Linked DNA regions of Homo sapiens: region 2 is linked to region 1. Evidence: promoter capture Hi-C in 16 types of primary human blood cells and fetal thymus (Javierre and others, 2016). All regions are on one chromosome and are shown on one strand. The core of a region is centred on a gene start or on the middle of the fragment in contact, and the rest is flanking DNA. Distances in the headings are between cores, read along the strand shown.

Region 1 (7,187 bases), core at 161-2,660:
GACTATAGGTGTACACTACCATGCTTGGCTCATTTTAAAATTTTTTGTAGAGGCCAGGCGTGGTGGCTCATGCCTGTAATCCTAGCACTTTGGGAGGCCGAGGCAGGCGGATCACGAGGTCAGGAGTTCAAGACCATCCTGGCCAACACAGTGAAACCCTGTCTCTACTAAAAATACAAAAATTAGCTGGGCGTGGTGGCGCGTGCCTGTAATCCCAGCTACTCGGGAGACTGAGGCAGGAGAATTGCTTGAACCGGGACCTGGGAGGCAGAGGCTGCAGTGAGCCAAGATTGCGCCACTGCACTCCAGCCTGGGCTACAGAGCAAGACTCCGTCTCAAAAAAAAAAAGTTTTTTGTAGAGATAAGATCTTCCTATGTTGCCCAGGCTTCTACTTTCATTCTCCAACATAGCTTATCTGCCTATTTTTATTGCTTGTTGTCTGTCTCCCTCCAGGACAAGGATTTTGTCCTTCTCTTCAGAGGTATTCCCAGCACCTACAACAGTGCCTGGCACATAGTAGCTGCACGATACATATTAGCTACTATAGTAAAGTCTACCTGACTACCCTATTTAATAGAATATTCCCCATGCTCAATCTGAATTCCTGATTCCCTTTAACCAACTTTTTTTCCTTTTTTTTTTTTTTTGCAATAGTGCTTATTACCTTTAAGACACTCTGTAACATACTATATTTATTATTTATTGTTAGTCTTTCTCTCCACACCTAGATTGTAAGTCTTATGAAAGCAAGGGCTTTTGTAGGCTTTTTTTTTTTTTTTTTTTTTTTTTTGAGACAGAGCCTCACTCTTCACCCAGGCTGGAGTACAAGGGCACAATCTGGGCTTACTGCAACCTCCGCCTCCAGGGTTCAAGCGATTCTTCTGCCTCAGCCTCCCAGGTAGCTGGGACTACAGGCGTGCGCCACCGTGCCCGGCTAATTTTTGTATTTTTAGTAGTGACGGGGTTTCACCATATTGGCCAGGCTAGTCTCGAACTCCTGACCTCGTGATCCGTCCGCCTCGGCCTCCCAAAGTACTGGGATTACAGGAGTGATCCACCGCGCCCGGCTGTAGGGTTTCTTATTCAGGTATTACCAACACCTAGGGAGTTGCCTGGCATACAGTAGGTAATTAATGGAGTATTTGATGAGCGCATGATGCATGGTGTAGTGCCGATGGAAGTGGGGTCAGAAGGCCTCCTGCCGCTGCGGCAGAATTCCCGTGTGGCCTTCTCCCACCAGGGCCTCAGTTTCCCCTCGCAGTTCCGATTCTCTGGCCGGCGCTGGGGTGGAGCCGGCGGGGCCGTCGTGCCGCCCGTGGCCGCTGGGGACGCTGGTGCCCTCCCGCCCCGCCCACTTCCCCGCCGGTCCGCCCCTGGCTAGAGAAGCCGCAGCCCGCAGTGTCCGACCCAGTCGTCCCGCGCCGGAGCCGGCCCCGTAGCGTGCCATGGCCTGCTACATCTACCAGCTGCCCTCCTGGGTGCTGGACGACCTGTGCCGCAACATGGACGCGCTCAGCGAGTGGGACTGGATGGAGTTCGGTGAGTGCGGCCCGGGGAGGGGAGGGGACCAGGGCGACCGGAGCCCCCAGCGATCCCGCCTGGAGCGGCCGCCAAGCTCCCTCGGGCACCCGGGTTCAGCGGGTCCCGATCCGAGGGCGTGCGAGCTGAGCCTCCTGGACCGGGTCCGCCGCGGACCTCGGCCTGTCACCTGAAGGTGCCGCGTGGTCTCTGAGGACGTCTGTCGACGAGCAGGGGCCGCCGCCACTGCGCTCTGAGTCCAGAGAACGGTGGGTACGGGGGCCCTCCTGTCAGCGCTGCTGGCTCGGTGACGTCCCCAGGTGGCCTCTCATCCAGCCCACAACAGCCTGCAAAGTGCGAGCCTCGACCCTGTAGGGACCCACGGTGCTGTCACTTCTTGGGGGGGTGTGTGTGTGTGTGTGTGTGGTGTGTTTAGTTTTAGTGTATATTAGAAGGATCTATGATTTAACATATATATATATATTGAAACGGAGTTTCGCTGTTGTTGCCCAGGCTGGAGTGCAATGGCACGGTCTCGGCTCACTGCAACCTCCACCTCTGGGATTCAAGCGATTTTCCTGCCTCGGCCTCCCGAGTAGCTGGGATTACAGGCGCCCGCTACCACCCTGGCTAATTTTTTGTATTTTCAGTAGAGACCGGGTTTCACCATGTTGGCCAGACTGGTCTTGAACTATTTTTTTTTTTTTTTTTTTTTTTTTTTAAGACGGAGTCTCACTCTGTCGCCCAGGCTGGAGTGCAGTGGCGCGATCTAGGCTCGTTGCAAGCTCCGCCTCCCGGGTTCACGCCATTCTCCTGCCTCAGCCTTCTGAGTAGCTGGGACTACAGGCGCCCGCCACCACGCCCGGCTAACTTTGTATTCTTAGTAGAGACGGGGTTTCACCGTGTTAGCCAGGATGGTCTGGATCTCCTGACCTTGTGATCCGCCCACCCTGGGCCTCCCAAAGTGCTGGGATTACAGGCATGAGCCACCGCGCCCGGCCTCCGGAACTCTTGATCTCAGGCGATCCACCTGCTTCGGCCTCCCAAAGTGCTGGGATTACAGGCGTGAGCCACTGTGCCCAGCCTATTTATCATATTTGTGATTAAATGTACTTTACCATTATAGTTTTAAAATCAGATATTTACTTTTAGTGTACATTGTTTTGATCACAGTATTTATGACTATCAACCTGTTTTGAGATCAGATGTGTCCTAATAGATTCAGTGTGTATAATGGGGCCTAAGCACAAGCACTTACTTTCACTCTATTGCAAGGTGCACAGTTCTAGATAATTCCGTGGGAAGGCACTCAGACAGCCTCCATATGTTTTGTTTGTTGGTGCCTGACGGATGACTGGCGGAGAGGGCCATGGACTCTGCGGGGAGGCCGCTTGCCTGTTGTCTCTGCTTTCCAGGTGGAGATCTGCATTCCAGGCTCTTGCTGTATGACTTTGGGCCAGTTTGTTAACCTCTCTGAGCCTCAGCTTCTGAATCTGTATGTAAACTGGAGATGATAATTATAGCTTCTTCATAAAGTTGTGAGGAATGAAAATACTGTATAAAAGCACTGACACCTAAGTGTTAAATATTCTTATAAGTCATAAGTTGTAATATTCTCTTTTCATTTTTATTTTTTTGAGACAGTCTCATTCTGTGGCCCAGGCTGGAATGCAGTGGCGAGATCTCGGCTCACTGCAGCTTCCGCCTCTTGGATTCAAGTGATTCTCTTGCCTCAGCCTCCCGAGTAGCTGGGATTACAGGCATGTGCCACCACGCCCACTAATTTTTATGTTTTTAGTAGAGATGGGGTTTCGCCATGTTGGCCAGGCTGGTCTCGAACTCCTGACCTCATGTGATTTGGCCGCTTTGGCCTCCCAAAGTGCTGGGATTACAGGCGTGAGCCACTGCTCCTGGACCTGGCTTCACTACTTTGAATGTTTCCTGGGCAGTGAACAAACTTTGTGTGAGACTCCCTCTCATTTTTTCCACATTGGCCCAGCCCTCAGTTACAAATGCCAGAACAACTTCTGTTTCTAGGAAATTCAATTAGAAGGCATACCTATGACTTAAAAAAAAAATAAAGCTTTACTGAGATATTCACATACCATACAATCCACCTGTTTCAGGAGTACAATTTAGTGGTATTTAGTATATTCACAGGGCTGTGTATCCATCTTCACAATCAATCTTAGAACATTTTAATCACCCGAAGAAGAAACTCTGTACCCGTTAACTTCCAATCCCCTCCTTCCATTTTCCTGAGTTTTAGACATTGCCTATTTTGGACATTTCATATAAATGGAATCATATAATATATAGTGCTCTGTGACTGACTTGTTTCAACTAACATGAGGTTCATCCATGTTGTAGCATGCGTCAATACTTAGTTTCTTTTTTTTTTTTTTGAGACGGAGTCTCGCTTTGTCACCCAGGCTGGAGTGCAGTGGCGCAATCTCGGCTCACTGCAAGCTCCACCTCCTGGGTTCATGCCATTCTCCTGCTTCAGCCTCCCTAGCAGCTTGGACTACAGGTGCCTGCCACCATGCCCGGCTAATTTTTTTGTATTTTTAGTAGAGATGGGGTTTCACTGTGTTAGCCAGGATGGTCTTGATCTCCTGACCGTGTAATCCACCTACCTCGGCTTCCCAAAGTGCTGGGATTACAGGCGTGAGCCACCGCGCCCAGCCAGTTTCTTTTTATTGTAGGATAATGTTCCATGGTATGGATATACTACATTTCATTCATTTATCAGTTGTTGGGCATTGGGTTCTTTTCACTTTTGGGCCATTGTGAATAGTGCTGCTGTGAACACTCACATACAAGATTTTGTGCAGTGGTGCAAATGTAGCTCACCGCAGCCCCAACTTCCTGGGCTCAAGCGATCTTCCTGTCTCCTGAGTAGCTGGACTACAGGTGTGCACTGCTGCACCCAGCTAACTTTTGTATTTTTTGTAGAGACAGGTTTCACCATGTTACTCAGGCTGATCTTGAACTCTGGAGCTCAAGCGATCTGCCCATCTCACCTTCCCAAATTGCTGGGATTACAGGTGTGAGCCACTGCATCTGGCTTTATGTTTAACTATTTGAGGAGCTACCAGATGTTTTCTAAAGTGGCTGAACCACCAGTGTATGAGGATGACCATTTCTCCACATCCTTGTCAACATGTGTTATTTTTTTCTTTTTTTAATTTTTTTTTTTTTGAGACAGAGTCTCGCTCTGTCGCTGAGGCTGGAGTGCAGTGGCATGATCTCGGCTCGCTGCAACCTTAGCCTCCTGGGTTCAAGCGATTCTTGTGCCTCAGCCTCCCAAGTAGCTGGGATTACAGGCATGCACCACCGTGCCTGACTAATTTTTGTATCTTCAGTAGAGACAGGGTTTCACCGTGTTGGCCAGGCTGGTCTCAAACTCCTAACCTCAGGTGATCTGCCCGCCTCGGCCTCCCAAAGTGCTGGGATTACAGGTGTGAGCACCATGTCCGGCCTTATTGTTGCTTTTTTGATGGTAGCCACCTGAGCCAGTGTGAAGTGGCATCTTACTGTGGTTTGATTTGCATTTCCCTAATGACTAATGCTGTGGAGCATCTTTTCCTGTGCTTGTTGGCCATTTGCACATCTTCTTTGGAGAATACCTCTGCGAGGCTCCCCACTGGGATGGATATGATCTGAACACCTTGCCAGGCATGTTGACTCTGACACATCTGCCCAGTGCTGGCCTCTCTGACCTCCTCTTCTTCCACACCCACTGTCACTCCCCTGCTCCAGCCACACTGACCTCCCTGGGCCAGACACAGGGTCTTTGCAGGTGCTGTTCCCTCTGCCTGGGACGTTCTTCCCCCTGTGTTACCTGGGGCTAGCTTTCTAGTCTATTAGTTTCCTCCTGTTGCAGTTATAGATTACTACAATATCAGGGGAACCAGCCCGCAGTATTTCAATGTAGGTTCTTTTCTATTTTCCCTAAGTGTCGGCCGGTCTGAGAAATAAAGAGTACAAAGAGAGAAATTTTACATCTAGGCCTCTGGGGGTGCTGTTACACATTGGTAGGACCGTGATGGTGACCCCGAGCCACAAAACCAGCGAGTTTTTATTAGGGATTTCAAAAGGGGAGGGGTGTACGAATAGGGAGTAGGTCCCAGAGATCACATTCTTCAAAGGGCAATAAAAGATCACAAGGCAAAGGTGAAATTAGAATTACTGGTGAAGGTCCATGTCCCACTGGGCACGCATTGTCTTGATAAACATCTTAACAGGAAACAGGGTTGGAGAGCAGACAACCCGTCTGACTAGAATTCACCAGGCTGGAATTTCCCAATCCTAGTAAGCCTGAGGGCACTGCAGGAGACCAGGGCATATTTCATCCCTTATCTCAACTGCATCAGACAGACACCCCCAGAGTGGCCATTTATAGACCTACCCCGGGAATGCGTTCCTTCCCCAGGGTTATCAATTATTAATATTCCTTGCTGGGAAAAGAATTCAGCGATATTTCTCCTACTCACACGTCCATCTATAGGCTCTCTGTGAGAAGAAAAATATGGCTCTATTCTGCCCGACCCCACAGGCAGTCAGACCTTATGGTTATCTTCCCTTGTTCCCTGAACATCACTGTTATTCTGTTCTTTTTCAGGGTGCCCTGATTTCATATTGTTTAAACACCCACGTTTTACAATCAGATTTCATATTTTTCAAACACACGTTTTACAAACAATTTATACAGTTAATGCAATCATCACAGGGTCCTGAGGTGACATACATCCTCAGCTTATGAAAATGATGGGATTAAGAGATTAAAGACAGGCATAGGAAATTATAAGAGTATAAATGTCCATAAAATCTTCACAATTTATGTTCAGAGATTGCAGTAAAGACAGACGTAAGAAATTATAAAAGTATTAATTTTGGGAACTGATAAATGTCCATGAAATCTTCACAAGTTGTATTCTTCTGCCGTGGCTTCAGCCGGTCCTGTTCGGGGCCCCTGACTTCCCACAACACTACAAAGTTGGTGGCCTGTAACACCTCAAGTTTATTATCTCAGCATTCTGGAGGTCAGAAGTCCTAACTCAGGGTGGCTCTAGGGAGGAGTCGGTCTCCTGGCCTTGACTGGCTTCCTGAGGCCTGCAGCATCCTGTGGCTTATGGCCCCTTCCTCCATCATCAAGGCCATGGGTGTGTATCATCACATCTGTCTCTGTGACTTCTGCTTCTACCATCACCTCATCTCTGAATCTGATGTTCTGGCCTCCCCCTTACAGGGACCCTGGTAATTACCTTGGCCAGACCCAGAGAATCCAGGATAATCTCATCTCAGAATCCTTGATTTAATCTAACCTGCAAAGTCCCTTTTGCTATGTAAGGTACCATATTCACAGGTCTCGGGGCTTAGGATGTGGATGTTTTCCAAGGGTATTATTCTGTCTGTCACAGTCCTTCAGGTAAGCTCCTGTGGCACCTCTTTGAAATCAAGAGGACTTTCCTGCCCCTGTTCCTCTCTAGCCCATCACCGTGTTTCATTTCCCTCATTCCGCTTCACAGCCTTTGATGTCCCCTCGTTCCTGAATTTTTTCCACCTGTCTCTCCCTATGGAATGGAAGCCCCGTGCGGGCAGGGGCCTTACCTGTCTAGTTTTTCACTGCTGTATTCCCAGAGCCTGGGACAGTGCCTGGCTAGAG
Region 2 (7,425 bases), core at 2,410-4,909, 160 kb after region 1:
GGTAGACTTTAACCTCTGGACCTTCTCCTGCAGCCCTGTCCTCTTATACTGAGCCTTGTGTTTACCTCTCAGGAAATGCCCTGAGTGTGGACTTCTGGTTCAAAGGGCCTTGTCTGGCCTATTGTCTTGGTGGTTTGACTGGGCTCTGCCTGGGGCTTTCACTGTGGCTGCCCTCTGCCTTTGTATTGAGTCATCTTTCTACACTCTCTTCTTTTCACCCCCCTTTCCAGTGGGGCTAAGAAGTGACAGCAGGAGGAAGACAGGTGGGAAGACTATTGTCAAGCCTCCGTACCCACTCAGCCTTCATCCGAGAGCAGGTTATTGTATTGGCTGGAAGACTGACAGCCTAGAACTACAAATTATTCCCAGGTTCCTCCCAGCAGAGAGTGATTAGACTGCCACAGTCCTGACAACTCAGAGGGCACTGCTAGGGAGCCTGCCATACCCCGAGATTACAGGCTGATAGGCAACCACTGCAAAGCCACCCTGGATCCATGAATGATCAACAGAAAGGGGTAATGAAAACCCCAAATTGCTTCCCTCCCACAAAAATGCCCATGTCCACACCCCTCCAGGGAGGGTGATATTAATACTTACAATCATGTCCTCATGGGAGGTATCCACAGTGTTAATTACTGACACCTAGAACCAAAGATATCACTGGTAAATTAACTCATGGCAGTTAGAATACAACCATCTCAAGTTCTTGACTGCATTTGTTTGTTCACTCACTCATTCATTCATTCATTCAGTAAGCATTCATTCTAAGTACCTTCTTTCTGCCAAGCACTGTGCTAGGAACTGGATATACAGACACAAATAAGAGGAACTTTTTGCCCTTGAGAAGCTCGCGAATAATGCTAGTGTCGCAAGATAAATTATTTAATGGTGGTTTGTGTGTCCTGTAGGAGCCTGAGGGGCTGGGGTGGTAGACACGAATTGAGCCCTAGATGATGGGTAGGAATTTGCAGGTGGCACAGGGGAAAATACCAGTCCAAGCAGCCAAGCAGAGGGAATACACGAGTAGAGACAAAGAGGTCTGAGAGAGCCTGATGTGTGTGGGGAAACGGCAAGCAGTCCTGGCTACCCTTAAGGTTGAGGAGAGACCCCAAGGGAGCTACAGCTGGTGTTCCTTTCCTGGATGACAGAGCCTCTGATGTTCCAGGCAGTTTATGCATAACGGGGTTATTACTTCAGACTGGGAGACTTGATTCGAGTGTTTCCTGAGGCTGCTCCCTGGTCCGTCACGTAGTGGGATCCAGAGTTGAACAGTTTGTAGGGCTGGAACATGGTGTCATGGTCATCTCCCTCCTATCTATTCTTTGAGGTCCAGCTCAAAAAGGGCCATCCATCACCTTTCTTGAAGATTCTCAGACCCTCAAATGGCTGGACTCTCTTGCATATCTTCAGCAAGGAACACATACAACACTTTATGCTGTTTCTTCTCCCCACTAGAAGGTGAGCTCCTTGGAGCCATGGTCTGAGCCATCTGCAGTTTCAAATCCCCTCAAATCATCCAGCACAGTGCTTTGCAAATAGAAGGAACTCAGCGACTATTTGCTGAATGAATAAGTAAATGAACAAAAGCTGTTATTTTTTTTCTTTGCTCAACCACTCTTCTCTTAAATTCTTGGGATAGAAAAGAGGACTTAAAAGAAGTTTCAGTGTGGAACAGACATTTCTTACCATTTTCCCCATTTCATCTTTTCCAGCACAAGCCCTGTAGGTATAAAGTTTGACTTGTGATTTCAGAAAGGCAGACAGTGGAAGAGGATGGCTGCAAAGCAGTTCAAGAGGTACACACCAAGTAAGCACAGGTTCTCTCATCAGATTCTAGACTCTCTAAAAACCAGGTCCCCGAAGTCTGCAAAGGCAAGTAAGGACAATAAGGAGTTTCCTCCATGTGCCGAGCTGTATAGGTTACAAAGTGCACAGGAAGGCGGGGAGGGCAGGGTACCAAGGGCACAGTCAATCAGAGACCTGCGACAGACTAAGGAAATGAAGAAGCCCAGAGAAGAGAAAGCACTTGCCAAAGTCACAGAGCTAGTTCAAGGCAGACCTGGGAAAAGAGCCCCATCCCCTAACCTTCTAATGCTGAGTCCACAAAACTTCACTCCACCAGGCTGCCTGTCTAGAATGTAAAGCAGTTGTTACACTGAGTTCTGTAAAGCTGCGGTTAAGTAGGTTCACGAAGAAAGTTTACTGAGAGGTAGTTTCAACCAGGTTACCAAAGGACCTTAGAAATAATCAGCATTTAATTCTAACCACTCTCACCCACCAGTCAGGGTTGATGAACCACACTTCTGAATGAGAGAGAGAGAGAGAGAGAGAGAGAGAGAGAGAAGGCGGGGGGGGGGGGGGGGGAGGAAAGAGGGAGGGGGAGAGAAAAGGACGGAAGGAAGGAGGAAGGGCGGGAGAGAAAGGGAGAGGGAGAGGAAGGGGGGAGGAAGAGGGAGCGGGGAGAGAGAGAGAGAAGAGAGGGAGGGGGAGAGAGAGAAAGGGAGAGGGAGAGGAAGGGGGGAGGGAGAGGGAGTGGGGAGAGAGGGAGGGTGGGGAGAGAGAGAGAGAGAGAGAGAACTTCTTAGAGTACTTCTTCCCAGGGACCTGGTATTATCTGGTCCCTGTTAACACCTGCACTCAAAATAATTCACCTCTTTGAGATCAGATAATGAGTTAAAAATTCATTTAGGATGAGCTGAATGTCAGAGCATAAAAGCCTCAACTCTAACCTGCAGTGGAAGAGCCAGAGGTGAGTGATTTACACCTAACCCTCTGCAGAACAAGAACACAGTGTTCTGATTTCTAGGTTCCTGCAGGTTCCCTCAAACCTGCTGCTGAGACACACCCATGTTTCTAAAAGAATGCATGTACTAGATATTCCAGGCTCAGCCCAGATACTTCCATTCTTTAGTTCTCCTTCAGTCATTCATTCACTCAAGGAGTAAGTGTGGAGTGAATGTACACTGCAGATGCCACAGAGACTTAAAAAACCCTGAGCCCCTGCCTTCGGAGGGTCGTTCAGGCCATCTTTACGTTTCCCGAGGTGCCCATCCTACCTGGGGGCCCTACCCCGAGCAACAGTTCAATCATCTCTGCTGGGAGCTGCAGTAGGCGGCAGAAAGGAATGGTTAGGAGGGTTCAAATCTCGGCTCTACTACCACTTAAGCAGCTGTGCAAGAGGCTCCACGTCTCCGAACCTCAAGTGTCCTCATCTGTAAAGTGTTGAGAAGAATAGCACCTTCTTCACAAGGCTGTTAGCAGGCGGAGATTACGAACAATGCTGAGGGCTCGGTATACAGTAGCTCCTCTGCTGTTCCTCGTTTTGTTTTCAATTGTTGACCGAAAAGAAGGAAGGGAGACTGGCAGGAGACGCAGGAGCGGCGCGCCCCGCAAAGTCAGGGAGGTTCCTCGGCCTCACCTCTGGACTCCCCTCGGAATGGTCCGCAAGGACGGGGCCAGAGCCCCCCAAATCTCTAAGCGGTGGAGGGGAGCTGAACGGCTCCAGCTTGGGATTTGGGACTCAGGACGGCCGAGGAACCCGTGAAGGCCGCGACCGTGGCCTTCACCCTGCTAGGCCTCCTCAGTACCAACACTCACCATGATTGCGGCGGTGGCTGCTCCAGGTCTCGGACGTGGCAGCTCCCGGCGGCGCCTCGGAACAGCTCACTTCCGGCGCCGGGCCCGACGGGCCGTGGCGTAGGAGCCTCCGGGCAGCAACGCGCTCGGCTCGCACAGCAGTTCCGCGCCTTCCAGAGGGCGCGCCCCGCCCTCCCGTGGCCCAGCCCCTATCCTCCAGTGACGTGCGAGACCAGAGGGCTGGGGCTCTGGTTGCCGCAGTTACCCTGACCCGGAGGGCTTTGGAATCTGAAGCTCTGGTGGGTCTACTCTCCCGACCAAGTCTGCCCTTTTCCTGAGATCCATAAATGAAAGAAAGGATTAATATAACTATCGGCCGGGCGCGGTGGCTCATGCCTGTAATCCCAGAACTTTGGGAGGCTGAGCTGGGGGGTGGATCACCTGAGGTCAGGAGTTCGAGACCAGCCTGGCCAACATGGTGAAACCCCGTCTCTACCAAAAATACAAAAATTAGCCGGGCATAGTGGCGCGCGCCTGTAGTCCCAGCTACAGGCTGAGGCAGGAGAATCGCTGGAACCCGGGAGGTGGAGGTTACAGTGAGCCGTGACTGCACCATTGCACTCCAGCCTGGGCAACAGAGAGACACTCTTGTAAAAAAGAAAAAAATCTATCTATCTATCTATCTATCTATCTATCTATCTATCTATCTATCTATCATCTATCTATCTGCAGCTTCACCCGCCTCACTACGGCTCTGGGTGCGACTGGTCTTATGATGAATGTTGTAGGATGAGTGACATCTTAGGAGTAAGTAGACTGTCCTAGTGCTTCCTTGTTGTAGTCTCCCTCTCAGTACCCAAGGACTGGGACCAGGGCAGAGGAGGCCAGGGAATGCCCCTCGCCAGAGGCTGGGACCTCTGGCCCTGCCATCCCTAACCCCTATATAGGACTGCCCCTTCCAAACCGATCCCCTGGGGTCCTGAGTAAGTCCCATCAAGGAGACCCCCCTAGGCAATGAAGGATCTCAGCCAGGCTCCTGCAGCTAGAGCCCCAGACCTAATCCTCAGGGTCCCCAACCCCAGGTCTCTGGCTTCACAAGGTAGGGCAGCTGAAGGCTCCCCACAAGCGCAGTGAGAATGCCACACTGGAGGACAGAGCCTGGGCTCCCCGCCTCAGCCACATATGGTCTAGCCCTGGGCCCCTTGTGACATTAAGGAGGCAGATGAGCTGGGGGAGGCCTTGGCTCCCCTTGGGCAAGTCACAGTCCTTCAGTTTCCTCTGCTGAAACTGGGAGTAAGGACCCTAGCTGGAGATGGTCACTGCTTGAAGGAAGATGTTAAGGCTCAGAGAATGTGATAGACCCAAACTGTCAAGGAGCTTTGGAGGGGAGGCCAGGGGAGTAGGGTGTTAGAATTAAGGGCCAGGCCTCTGGGCAACTCTTCTACCCCACTGCAGCTTTCAAGATTTTTTATTGCCCTCTAGTGGAGAAATTGTTGCAGGGGTGTGAGGGGGTGGTGGTTAGGTTAGAGCAGGGAACAAAGGCAGGTTTCAGGGGATCTCTTGGATCTCCTGTTGTTTTTTTTGTTTTTTTTTTTTTGGAGATGGACTCTAGCTCTGTTGCCCAGGCTGGAGTCCAGTGGTATGATCTTGGCTCACTGCAACCTCTACCTCCCGGGTTCAAGCAATTCTCCTGCCTCAGCCTCCTGAGTAGCTGGGATTACAGGCATGTGCCACCATGCCTGGCTAATTTTTGTAGTTTTAGTAGAGATGGGGTTTCACCATGTTGGCCAGGCTGGTCTCAAACTCCTGACCTCTGGTGATCTACTCTCCTCGGCCTCTCAAAGTGCTGGGATTACAGGTGTGAGCCGCTGCGTCCTGCCAGATCTCCTGTTCTTCAAGGAACAGGCTCTGGCCTTGGCTCTATAGCTGCACCACTGACTTTCTAGGTGATAAGGCCAAGTCACTTTTCTCTGAGCCTCACTTTCTTTGAGTGGAAAATGAGGACAAGGGCATATTAGATGTAAATATAATGCATCAGGCATAATTGTGATTAAAAGAATTTCCTTGTGTAGACACTGATGTTGAAGAGATTGGGGATTTGTGACAAGCAACAGAACTGTATCTTATTCATTAAGGTATTTGCTGTAAGGTATTTGGCCCATAAGGCGCTGTAATATGGCAGTTTAGAGTACAGATGCTGGCATCAAGACTGCTAGGTATCAGTGCTGGATCTCCTGCTTACCAGGTGGGCATGCTCTTCACCTCTTTGAGATGCTGTCTCCTGCTCTTTTGAGTGAGAATTATAATAATACCTCCTCTGAAGGTTGATATTGGGATTAAATGAACCCTTGGATATGAAACTGCGTATGGAAGTCAGATGGGCCTATGGCGCTTGATTTGGGGATCAGTTCAACCTAAGAAGAGCTGTGTGAGTGTGTGAGTGTGTGTGTAACTCTCAACCCTTGGGCCAACCTTAGGGATTACTTGTTGGTCTGGGCATATTCTCTTTCTCTGCCAATGTTCAGCAGAGGTTTGTGAAGTCCAGACTCCTCAGGTGCCAGGCTTCCCTCTGCCTTACCCCTCTCCCCAGTAGGGGGGTGCCACCTAGATCCAGTGTCTGTATTCCGCATCTCCTCCCTCTGGTTAATCCAGACCCCAAATCAGGCCAACTTTCCCTGATTTTTGCCCCCCCACCCCTTGCCCCCAAACCTCCTCCGCTTCGTCCTGAGGCCCCGTTCCCCAGTCTTCTTCTATGAGATGGTCAACCATTCCTCATAGGTTAATGGCTCATGGCAGGGTGAGCCTGTCTCCCTCAAATGGTGGGTGTTCAAAAGGTGTGATCTAGTGGAAGGAGAGAGACTGCCCGCTGAGCTGTGGGCCCTTGGGCAAAGTGCATTTCCCTCCCAGGGACTCAGTTTCCCCCTGAGTTCAACTCCACGAAGGGCGGGGACCCAGCTGTCCTTCAGAAAAAGGCCTTGTGATGTGTACCGTGTCTGCATTTCCACGTGTGCATTTATTGTTATTGCTCAGTATAGTGTTGAAAAGGCAGACAAATCCCATTAATTACAAAGAGCACAAGCCAAAGATACAGAGAAATAAAGAGTGTACAATAAGAGCACAGTCACTTCCCAGCCCCGATTGTCCCAGAGCCCCCCAGAGCCCGGGCAGCTTACGGAAGCTGGAGGCGGCACCATTCCCTCGCTACTCTATTATAAAATATGTGCACACAAGAGTTAGCAAAGTGTGGTGACCCCCGAGAGGAAAGGTCCAGGAGGGAGAGCACCACAGGCATTACAAAACAGACTTAGGGGGCTGAGAAGGGCAGTCCCAAAGCAGCCTCCAATATTGTTTTCAGTGGAGGGGGTGATGGCTGCTGCCTGGGGCTGGGGACCCTCCTCCCCCACCTGGGTTGGTATGATCTCTACATTAAAATCAGGAGAGCTTGGTTTGGAACTTTGAAAAGGCCTGGGGACTTCCTGCTATTGTCTGACTTCCCTCCTGGCTCTGGAAGGCCTAAAAGCCTTCAAGAAACGCTCTTCCCTACAAGAGCCTCTAATGGTGGGATTTTGGACACAATGGCAGGAGAGAGATTTGGGTGGGAGGCTTGTCAGAATGCACCAGGTTGGCAGCCTCCTGCAGGTAGCGCAAGAGTGGGCTAGGGGAGTGAGGGTTCCGAGAAGGCCCAGGCAAGAACTGCCTGCATCCCAAAGGTACTGGAGACTCCAAATTAAAGAGCAAGAAACTATCCCCCCAAAACAAAATGAAACAAAAACAACAAAAAACCAGTTCAGGAAAGGGAGATAGGAATAAAGGTTTCTCCATGATGAGAATTAGAAGTGCAGACAACTG

Evidence for each region. The method cuts DNA at HindIII sites, captures the fragments that hold promoters and counts their contacts. A CHiCAGO score of 5 or more calls a contact.
Region 2: a contact is called between the fragment with the promoter of SEC13 here and the fragment with the promoter of IRAK2 in region 1, in 1 of 17 cell types (neutrophils). The highest score is 7.6, in neutrophils.

Annotation. Positions count from the first base shown.
Region 1 is chr3:10,163,509-10,170,695 of GRCh38, forward strand. IRAK2 (interleukin 1 receptor associated kinase 2) reads left to right here and starts at 1,411. Exons shown (of 13, transcript NM_001570.4): 1 at 1,411-1,540. The coding sequence starts at 1,447. RefSeq lists silencers at 1,246-1,375, 1,576-1,725 and an enhancer at 5,479-5,989. The HindIII fragment of the contact is 5,632 bases long and covers 1-3,600 here.
Region 2 is chr3:10,317,453-10,324,877 of GRCh38, forward strand. It overlaps SEC13 (SEC13 homolog, nuclear pore and COPII component), which reads right to left and starts at 3,660. Exons shown (of 9, transcript NM_183352.3): 1 at 3,598-3,660; 2 at 598-642. The coding sequence starts at 3,600. It overlaps ATP2B2 (ATPase plasma membrane Ca2+ transporting 2), which reads right to left. Exons shown (of 23, transcript NM_001001331.4): 23 at 6,571-7,425. RefSeq lists enhancers at 3,326-3,625, 3,373-3,968 and a silencer at 3,816-3,895. The HindIII fragment of the contact is 12,357 bases long and covers 1-7,425 here.